Regions from separate parts of the Homo sapiens genome. Here all the other regions are linked to region 3. Evidence: promoter capture Hi-C in 16 types of primary human blood cells and fetal thymus (Javierre and others, 2016). All regions are on one chromosome and are shown on one strand. Each heading gives the region's core, a stretch centred on a gene start or on the middle of the fragment in contact. The rest is flanking DNA. Distances are from core to core; before and after follow the strand shown. Region 1 has its middle 59 kb from the start of NUP160. Region 2 has its middle 25 kb from the start of NUP160. Region 3 holds the start of PTPRJ (protein tyrosine phosphatase receptor type J).

Region 1 (2,700 bases), core at 111-2,610, 73 kb after region 3:
GAACCGCGGAGCTTGCAGTGAGCCAAGATGGCGCCACTGCACTCCAGTCTGGGTGACAGAGAGAGACTCTGTCTCAAAAAAGAAAAAAGAAAAAGAAAAAGAGTGCCTTTTATCTATTCTCAGCCAAGAGTGGTCTCAGCCAATATGTGGCAAGTGCCACTGATTCAGTAGTGAATAAGCCATATCTCTTCCATGAAGAGCTTTAGTCTTTAATTCCTAAGGTGTTTCTGCAGTTCCATAATAGTAATAATAGCTGCTAAACGTGCTAAGTTGAAGGCAAAGCCCTGGGAAAAGGCCACTGTAGTAGACCCCTCTGGGGGACACTGCCCAGCCAACAACAGCCTCCACCTATCAGAATATTTGTCCTTTCTCGCCCAAGAGTGGTTTTCAGAAGCACTGTTCTAGCTCGTTTCACAACAACCTTGAGATGATAACATTAAGGTTAAGTAAATTGTGCAAGACCACATAACTCTTTCATAGCTCTAGTAATGACTTTAACTCAGGTCTGCCTGGCTCTAACACACATGATCTTTCCACTATTTCCTGCTGCCTCCAAATAGACAGACAAATGGGCTATTCGGTTTGACTTAATATACAACAATCGCCAAGGTTTTTGTTTCATTTTCCTTTTATTGGCATCAGTAATATTCATGCTTTTTTTTTTTTTTTTGAGACAGAGTCTCACCCCTGTTGCCTAGGCTGGAGTGCATTGGCACGATCTCAGCTCATTGCAACCTCCACCTCCCAGGTTCAAGCGATTCTTGTGCCTCAGCCTCCCGAGTAGCTGGGATTACAGGCATGTGCCACCATGCCCGGCTAACTTTTATATTTTTTTAAGTAGAGACGGGGTTTCACCATGTTGGCCAGGCTAGTCTCAAACTCCTGACCTCAAGTGATCCGCCCACCTCGGCCTCCCAAAGTGTTGGAATTACAGGCATGAGCCACTGCGCCCAGCTGGCATTAGTAATATTCATTACACTGGTATCTTTAACCTTCATTTTGGCAATAATGCCCCGTAAAACACCAGACAAACCCTTAACAAGCTAGCATGATGCGTCTGGGGAGTTTGTACACATGGCCGTGTCCATCTATGGGAAGATATAGTGTTGGAGCAAGCCCCAGGAGTAGTCAGTCAAATGGCTGAGGATTCTTTTGCAATGAGGATATTACTGATGAGAAATAAAGGCCCAAGGGAAAATCCCCCTCAATGACGGAATGTTTCCAGTACATCTGAAGGGAGTTGGAAACGTGTATGTAATGTCCTGATGGGAGCTCATCTTTGCATGCCCAAAGTTGTGTAAGCACCTTGGTCCAGAAACATTCCCTGAATATAGCTAAAACTGCAAAAATTCAATGGTCCATGTCCTTTTTTCAAATTGTTTCACTATCAGCTGCTACTGCTCTGGTCTGTTCAAATAATGGCACCTTGATTTGAAAGAAGGAAATATGTATTTCATTTATAAAGTCAATAAATTTATTCTGAGTGCTAATATGTGGGAGGCACTATTGATTCAATAGTGAATAAGCACCATCTTGTCCATGAAGAGCTTTAGTCTTTAATTCATAAGGGCGTTTCTGCAGTTCCACAATAGTAATGAGAGCTGCTTGCTGTTGATGCACGATCATCCATTTGCACTTCACCATCATTCTGGGGTAGGCAGGGTAGGTCTTATAATCTCCATATCACAAATGAAAAGCCTGAGCATGAGAGAAGTTATGGCTTTTTTCCAAAGTTTCACAACTTGTAATTAATAGATCTGAGATTTTTTTTTTTTCTGAGACAGGATCTTGCTCTGTGGCCCAGGCTGGAGTGCAGTGGTGCGATCTCAGCTGACTACAACCTCTGCCTCCTGGGCTCAAGCAATCCTCCCACTTCAGCCTCCCAAGTAGCTGGGACTACAGGTGCCCACCACCACAGTGGCTAATTTTTGTATTTTTTGTAGAGACGGGGTTTTTCCATGTTACCCAGGCTGGTCTCGAACTCCTGAGCTCAAGTGATCCACCCACCTCAGCCTCTCAAAGTGCTGGGATTACAGGTGTGAGCCACCATACACACACAGTCAGATCTGAGATTTAAGACTGCTTAATCTGGGGGGTCCCTTTTATGGAGTTGCATGCTCTGTCATCTTATTTCAGATTTGGTATTTCTTGGAGATGCATAGTTTTCTGCTTGTGGTATTACAGAGTAAGGTTTAGCAACCTATGACCTGTGGGCCAAACCTGCTGCCATCTGCATTTGTTTGTTTGTTTGTTTGTTTGTTTGTGTTTTCGAGACAGGGTCTCACTCTGTTGCCCAGGCTGGAGTGCAGTGGCATGATCACTGGCTCACTGCAGCTTCAACATCCTGGGATGAAGTGATCCTCCCATCTAAGCCTTCTGAGTAGCTGGGACTACAGGAGTGCACCACCATGCCCAGCTAATTTTTGCTTTTTTTTTCTTTTGTAGAGACGGAATTTCGCCATGTTGTCCAGGCTCATCTCAAACTCCTGGGCTCAAGCGACCCGCCCCCCTCAGCCTCCTAAAGTGCTGAGATTACAGGCGCAAGCCACCATGCCCAGCCTGCTGCCACCTGTTTTTGCAAATAAGATTTTATTAGGACACAGCCACACTCACTCATTTATTTACTGCCTGTGGTGGTTTTGTACTACAACAGCAAAGTTGAGCAGCTGTGATCAAGACTATATGCCCCACAAAGCCTAA
Region 2 (2,700 bases), core at 135-2,634, 110 kb after region 3:
TGGGAGGCCAAGGTGAGAGGATAGATTGAAGCTTGAGACCAGCCTTGATGACAAAGCAAGACTCCACCTATACAAAACGTTTTTTTAAATCAGCTGGGTGCAGTGGCACGTGACTGTGGTCCCAGCTACTCAGGAGGATTGTTTGAGCCCAGAAGTTCAAGGTCACATTGAACTCAACCAGGCGCAGTGGCTCATGCCTATAATCCCAGGATTTTGGGTGGCCAAGGTGGGCCTATCACTTGAGGTCAGGAGTTTGAGACCAGCCTGGTCAACATGGTGAAACCCCATCTCTACTAAATTAGGTGGGCATGGAGGCATGTGCCTGTAATCCCAGCTACTTGGGAGGCTGAGCCAAGAGGATTGCTTGAGTCCAGGAGGTGGAGGTACCAGTGAGCCAAGATTGCACCATCTTGTCTCAAATGAATAACTAAATAAATAATAAAAATAAATTTTAAAAAAAGATATCTTTAACATATCAAAAAACAAACAAAACAAAAAACTAACATATCAACATATCCAAAAGTAAGTTCTTCTTTTTTTATTTTATTTTATTTTTTTTGAGACAGAGTTTTGCTCTTGTTGCCCAGGCTGGAGTGCAGTGGCACAATCTTAGCTCACTGCAACCTTTGCCTCCCAGGTTCAAGTGATTTTCCTGCCTCAGCCTCCCAAGTAACTGGGATTACAGGCACCTGCCACCATGCCCGGCTAATTTTTTGTATTTAGTAGAGACAGGGTTTCACCATGTTGGTCAGGCTGGTCTTGAACTCCTCACCTCAGGTGATCCACCCACCTGGGGCTCCCAAAGTGCTGGGGTTACAGGTGTGAGCCACTGCGCCTGGCCCAAAACTTAGTTCTTAATCTACTCCTCTAATCTTTACTCCATCATTCTTGCCCACCATTCCAACCAGAAACCTGGGAGCCATACTTTCCTCCTCTTTCCCCCATTCTCTCCTACCCCATCCAACCCACCAACAAGTCAGAAGGATTGTACTTCAAAAGTATGTTTCAGATTCGTCCACTTCTCTCCAGTCAGCTACCCTGTTCTAAGCAACTATCATTTCTCATCTGGACTCCTGTAGAAACTCCTAGCTGGTGTCCCTACCTTACTCTGGCTCCTTCCTCAAAGCTAAAAATGGTTATTTTCCATATGACATTTAAGTGCTCTTTTAAAATAAATCATAATGTGCCCAGGCACGATGGCTCATGCCTGTAATCCCAGCACTTTGAGAAGCTGAGGGTGGCAGATCACCTGAGGTCAGGAGTTTAAGACCAGCCTGGCCAACATGGCAAAACCCCATCTCTAATAAAAATACAAAAATTAGCCAGCTGTGGTGGCAGGTGCCTGCAATCCCAGCTACTCGGGAGGCTGAGGCAGGGAGAATCGCTTGAAACTGGAAGGTGGAGGCTGCAGTGAGCTGAAATTGCGCTACTGCACTCCAGCCTGGGCGACAGAGCAAGACTCCATCTCAAAAAAAAAAAAAAGTCAGCTTTGAATAAATCTGTTGAATGCAAATGAATGAATGAGAAGGTGCTTGCTGCGGAGAACAAGGACTTAAAGGCGAATGGCATCGGACTCTCCTAATCAGATGCTTCCATCTCCACAACAAGGGTGACTAGTCAATGGGACCAGAAATCCTACAAGTATGTTGGCTGAGTCTTCCTGGTCAGTGCTTGAAAGAACAGGAAATGTTCCATCTTCTGGTTTGATCAAATCCTTATTTAATGAATACATTCTTTCTTTCTATTTAAGACTTCTGGCCAGGCACAGTGGCTCACGGCTGTAATCCCAGCACTTTGGGAGGCCAAGGCGGGCAGATCATGAGGTCAGGAATTTGAGACCAGCCTGACCAACATGGTGAAACCCTGTCTCTACTAAAAATACAAAAATTAGCTGGGCTTGGTGGCAGGTGCCTATAGTCCCAGCTGCTCAGAAGGCTGAAGCAGGAGAATTGCTTGAACCTGGAAGGGAGAGGTTGTGGTGAGCTGAGATCACGCCATTGCACTCCAGCCTGGGCAACAAGAGGGAAACTCTGTCTCGGAAAAAAAAAAAAAAAAAAAAAAGACTTCTAATCAACTTACATTTATGTCTTTGGAGTCACATTATTGTTTCCAGAGGGGCTACATAACCTGACTCTGATTCCCTGCATGTGTCAGTAGTGTGATGTAAGGCCTAAAATCAATTTTTTTTTTTTTTTGAGATGGAGTCTGGCTCTGTCGCCCAGGCTGGAGTGCAGTGGTGCAATCTCAGCTCACTGCAAGCTCCACCTCCCGGTTTCACACCATTCTCCTGCCTCAGCCTCCCGAGTAGCTGGGACCACATGTGCCCGCCACCACGCCCAGCTAATTTTTTGTATTTTTAGTACAGACAGGGTTTCACCATGCTGACCAGGATGGTCTCGATCTCCTGACCTCATGATCCACCGCCTCGGCCTCCCAAAGTGCTGTGATTACAGGCATGAGCCACCACACCCCACCCTAAAATCAATATTATGTGCTGTCTTGACTGGAACTGGGTGTGGGGGGCCTTGAGTGGCCTGACAGCAAGTTTTCCTCCCCACTCTGCTCCGGTGGATAAGATCCTCTAGCCAGATAACCCTCACTATCAAATGGACTAGGTGCAATTCCTGCTTATTCCTGAGTAGCAGGTTTCAGTTCCCATGGAATTATTCAAACAAGCCAATCACATCCTCCTTAAGAAAT
Region 3 (2,700 bases), core at 92-2,591:
GAGGCTAAGAGGACGTGCCCGCTGGCTCAGCTCCCATGGCACGGGCTGGGTGCTCCGCTATTTCACTTCTCTCCCTCAGTTCCCCATCTGTGAAATGGGAATGCCCCTTCAGCTGCTCTGCCTCAGCCCCTATGGAAATGCCAGGAAGGGGAAAGGTCGGTCACCAAAACGCCAGGGACAGCATTATCTGAAAAGTGAAGCCAGAAAAGAGGGTGAGGGTGGGGTGGGGAGGGGGAGCCAGCGCCCACAAAGCACGAATTAAACACCCATGAAATCAAGCACGACGCCAAGAGGGCCGGCTGCCTTGAGAAAAGCCAGCGTGCGGCCACCTTTTCCCCGGCCTGGGAACTTTCCCCAGGAACAGGGCCCTCGGCCCGGAGTCCCGCGCCTCGCCCAGGGCCCCACTGCCCAGCGCCTGGCCCTGCCCTGTCGCCCCCGCCGCCCCTCGGGCCCCTGCAGGCCGGGTCGGAGGTCTGTCGGCAAAGGCTCAGCCAGGCCGCCCGGCTCTGCGTCCCCAGACCTCCGCAAACACGCCCCCTCCGGCCGCCTCCGGCTAGGAAGCCGGGCCCGTGCCCGCCAGATGTGCCCAGCGCCGGGAAGAGCCGGGCCAGGGACGGCCTGGAGCCCGCGCGGAGGCTTTCCCCGGGAGGCTCGGGCACCGCGGCACCCGGATCCCGCCTCTCTCCCCCGATCCTGGGCAGCCGGAAAAGGGATCGATCGCCGGCGTGCGAGGCCGGCCGGGGTCCCCGCAAGTCGCCTTCCGGGGATCCGGGGATCCGGACCCCCGCCCCCTTCCCCGGAACCCCCCGGGGGGGTACGCTCGGGCAGGTGCAGTCAATGCCAGTCCCGCCCCAGCCTCCTGCCCCCCGCCCGAGCCCACCCGGCGCTTACCTGGCCCAGGCGCAGCAGCAGCAGCAGCAGCGGCAGCGCCCAGCGCAGCCCGGGCGAGCGCGGAGGCAGCCGCGCCTCCCGCGCCGCCGGCTTCATGCCCCGCGCGCCCTGGAACGTGCCCCGGACGCGCGAATCGGGCCCCGCCGTGCGCCCGAGCCCGGGCACCGTCGTCGCCGCCTCCTGCCGTCTCCTTCGCCTCCTCCTCCGCCAGCCGGTCCGCCTCGTCCCCGCTCCGCCCGCCCCGGGCTTCCCCGGAGACATGGCAGCGGCGGCGGCGGCCGCGGCCACACGCCGGAGCCTAGCGCGGCTGCCGCGGGGGGGCCGCGTCCCTGAGCGCGCAGGGGCTTCGCGGGGCGGAGCGAGCGGCGCCCACCCCCAGCGCGCGGCTACCCGGTCCCGGCTCCCGCGGCTGCTCCCGCTGCCTCCTCCGCGCGTCATGCGGCTGGGGCTGCTGCAGGGAGCCGCGGCGAGCGCTCGGCCCCCTCCCTTCCCCTCCCCCTCTGAATATTCATCGCTTCCTCCCGCCCCGGCCGGCCCGGCGGCTGCGGAGCTCCGCAGCCCCTCGCCGCCGCCCGCCGCTGCCCCCGCCCCCTCCGAGCCGGCCGCGGATCCCCTCCCGCGGGCAGAGGAAGCGCTCCCGCCTCGCCCGCCCCTCCGCCCAGCCCTCCCACATTCCTGGGACTTGGAGCCCGGGACCAGGCTCCGTGGCTCTAGCGCCTCGAGCCGGCACCCCTCAGGACGGGCTCCCCAGCCTCACACCAGGTCCACGGCGCCGGGTTCGGGTGGGCAGAGGTTGACCGAGACCCCTACTGAGAGCGCAGCCAAGCCTGATTGTAGACAGCAACCCGGCGAAGGCGCGTTTGACCTGGCCCTGGGTGGGCTTGGGGGTGCGTGAACCCCGAAATTGTAGAAGGCACGCTGTACATTGTGTTCTGTCCCCCAGCCCCCGAGCGCCGGCCAGGGAGGCAGAGAGCCCAGTACAAGCCAGTCCAGGGATTAGAACCCCAGCTGTGGCATATGGTGGACGGGGCTCTGCTGGTAGTACCAGCCCTGTGAACTCTGGAGACGCATTTCTCCTCTCTGGCCGACCCCACCCACCCTCCTCTCCTCCCGTGTGAAATAAAGATCGTACTAGGACGTGTGGAGAGAGAGGTCCACTGCATTCGCGATTAAACGAGACAGTAGTTAGTAAAGTCCTAAACACCTAGCCTGACACATCGTGGGACTCCACATACATTAGCTCTTCTGGAAGCTTTCATCACGTTGTTAAAGAGGTCAATGAACTGACAGGAGTTAAAGATCACAGCAGATATTACTCCTGTGCCCATGCACAGAGGAAGACACTAGGATCAGGGAGGCTATGCCACTTGCCCAGGAGAAGCCGCAAGAGAAAGGGCCAAACCAGAGAGTGCTAAGGAGGAAGAGGTTAATTCCAACCAGGAGAGAGGTGACACCTGAGCTGGGCTTTGAAGGATGTGTTGAGTTTCACCAGGCCAGTAGAGGGGAGAAGTGTCTCAGGAGGTGGGGCCAACTTGGCAGAAACGAGGCAGCAGATGCTTCGAGCTTGGCCTTCGGAGAAACAGGAATGGGAGGCTGGGGGATTCATACTGGGGGAGACTTCAAAGGCCAGGATAATGAGTCTAGGCTGGATTCTGTGTGCAGCAAGATGCAGACCACGAGGTGTCCAACACTACCTCCAGACACCCGTTGGGCCTCAGGTTACCATCTACAAGATGGGAATACACATTCACTTACAGGGTCTAAGTGGTTCCCACCAGACAACACACCCAGACAAGCACTGAGGATAAA

What was found. Contacts are between HindIII fragments. The CHiCAGO score rates a contact against its expected background, and 5 or more counts as called.
Region 1: a contact is called between a fragment that was not itself captured here and the fragment with the promoter of PTPRJ in region 3, in 1 of 17 cell types (M2 macrophages). The highest score is 6.2, in M2 macrophages.
Region 2: a contact is called between a fragment that was not itself captured here and the fragment with the promoter of PTPRJ in region 3, in 6 of 17 cell types (total B cells, M2 macrophages, activated CD4 T cells and 3 more). The highest score is 6.1, in total B cells.

What each region holds. Positions count from the first base shown.
Region 1 is chr11:47,906,148-47,908,847 of GRCh38, reverse strand. No RefSeq gene overlaps it. Among named protein-coding and RNA genes, the nearest start is that of NUP160, 59 kb to the right of the region's middle. The HindIII fragment of the contact is 4,554 bases long and covers 1-2,700 here.
Region 2 is chr11:47,872,461-47,875,160 of GRCh38, reverse strand. No RefSeq gene overlaps it. Among named protein-coding and RNA genes, the nearest start is that of NUP160, 25 kb to the right of the region's middle. The HindIII fragment of the contact is 2,702 bases long and covers 34-2,700 here.
Region 3 is chr11:47,979,200-47,981,899 of GRCh38, reverse strand. It overlaps PTPRJ (protein tyrosine phosphatase receptor type J), which reads right to left and starts at 1,341. Exons shown (of 25, transcript NM_002843.4): 1 at 892-1,341. The coding sequence starts at 987. RefSeq lists silencers at 311-740, 841-1,430. The HindIII fragment of the contact is 2,862 bases long and covers 1-2,145 here.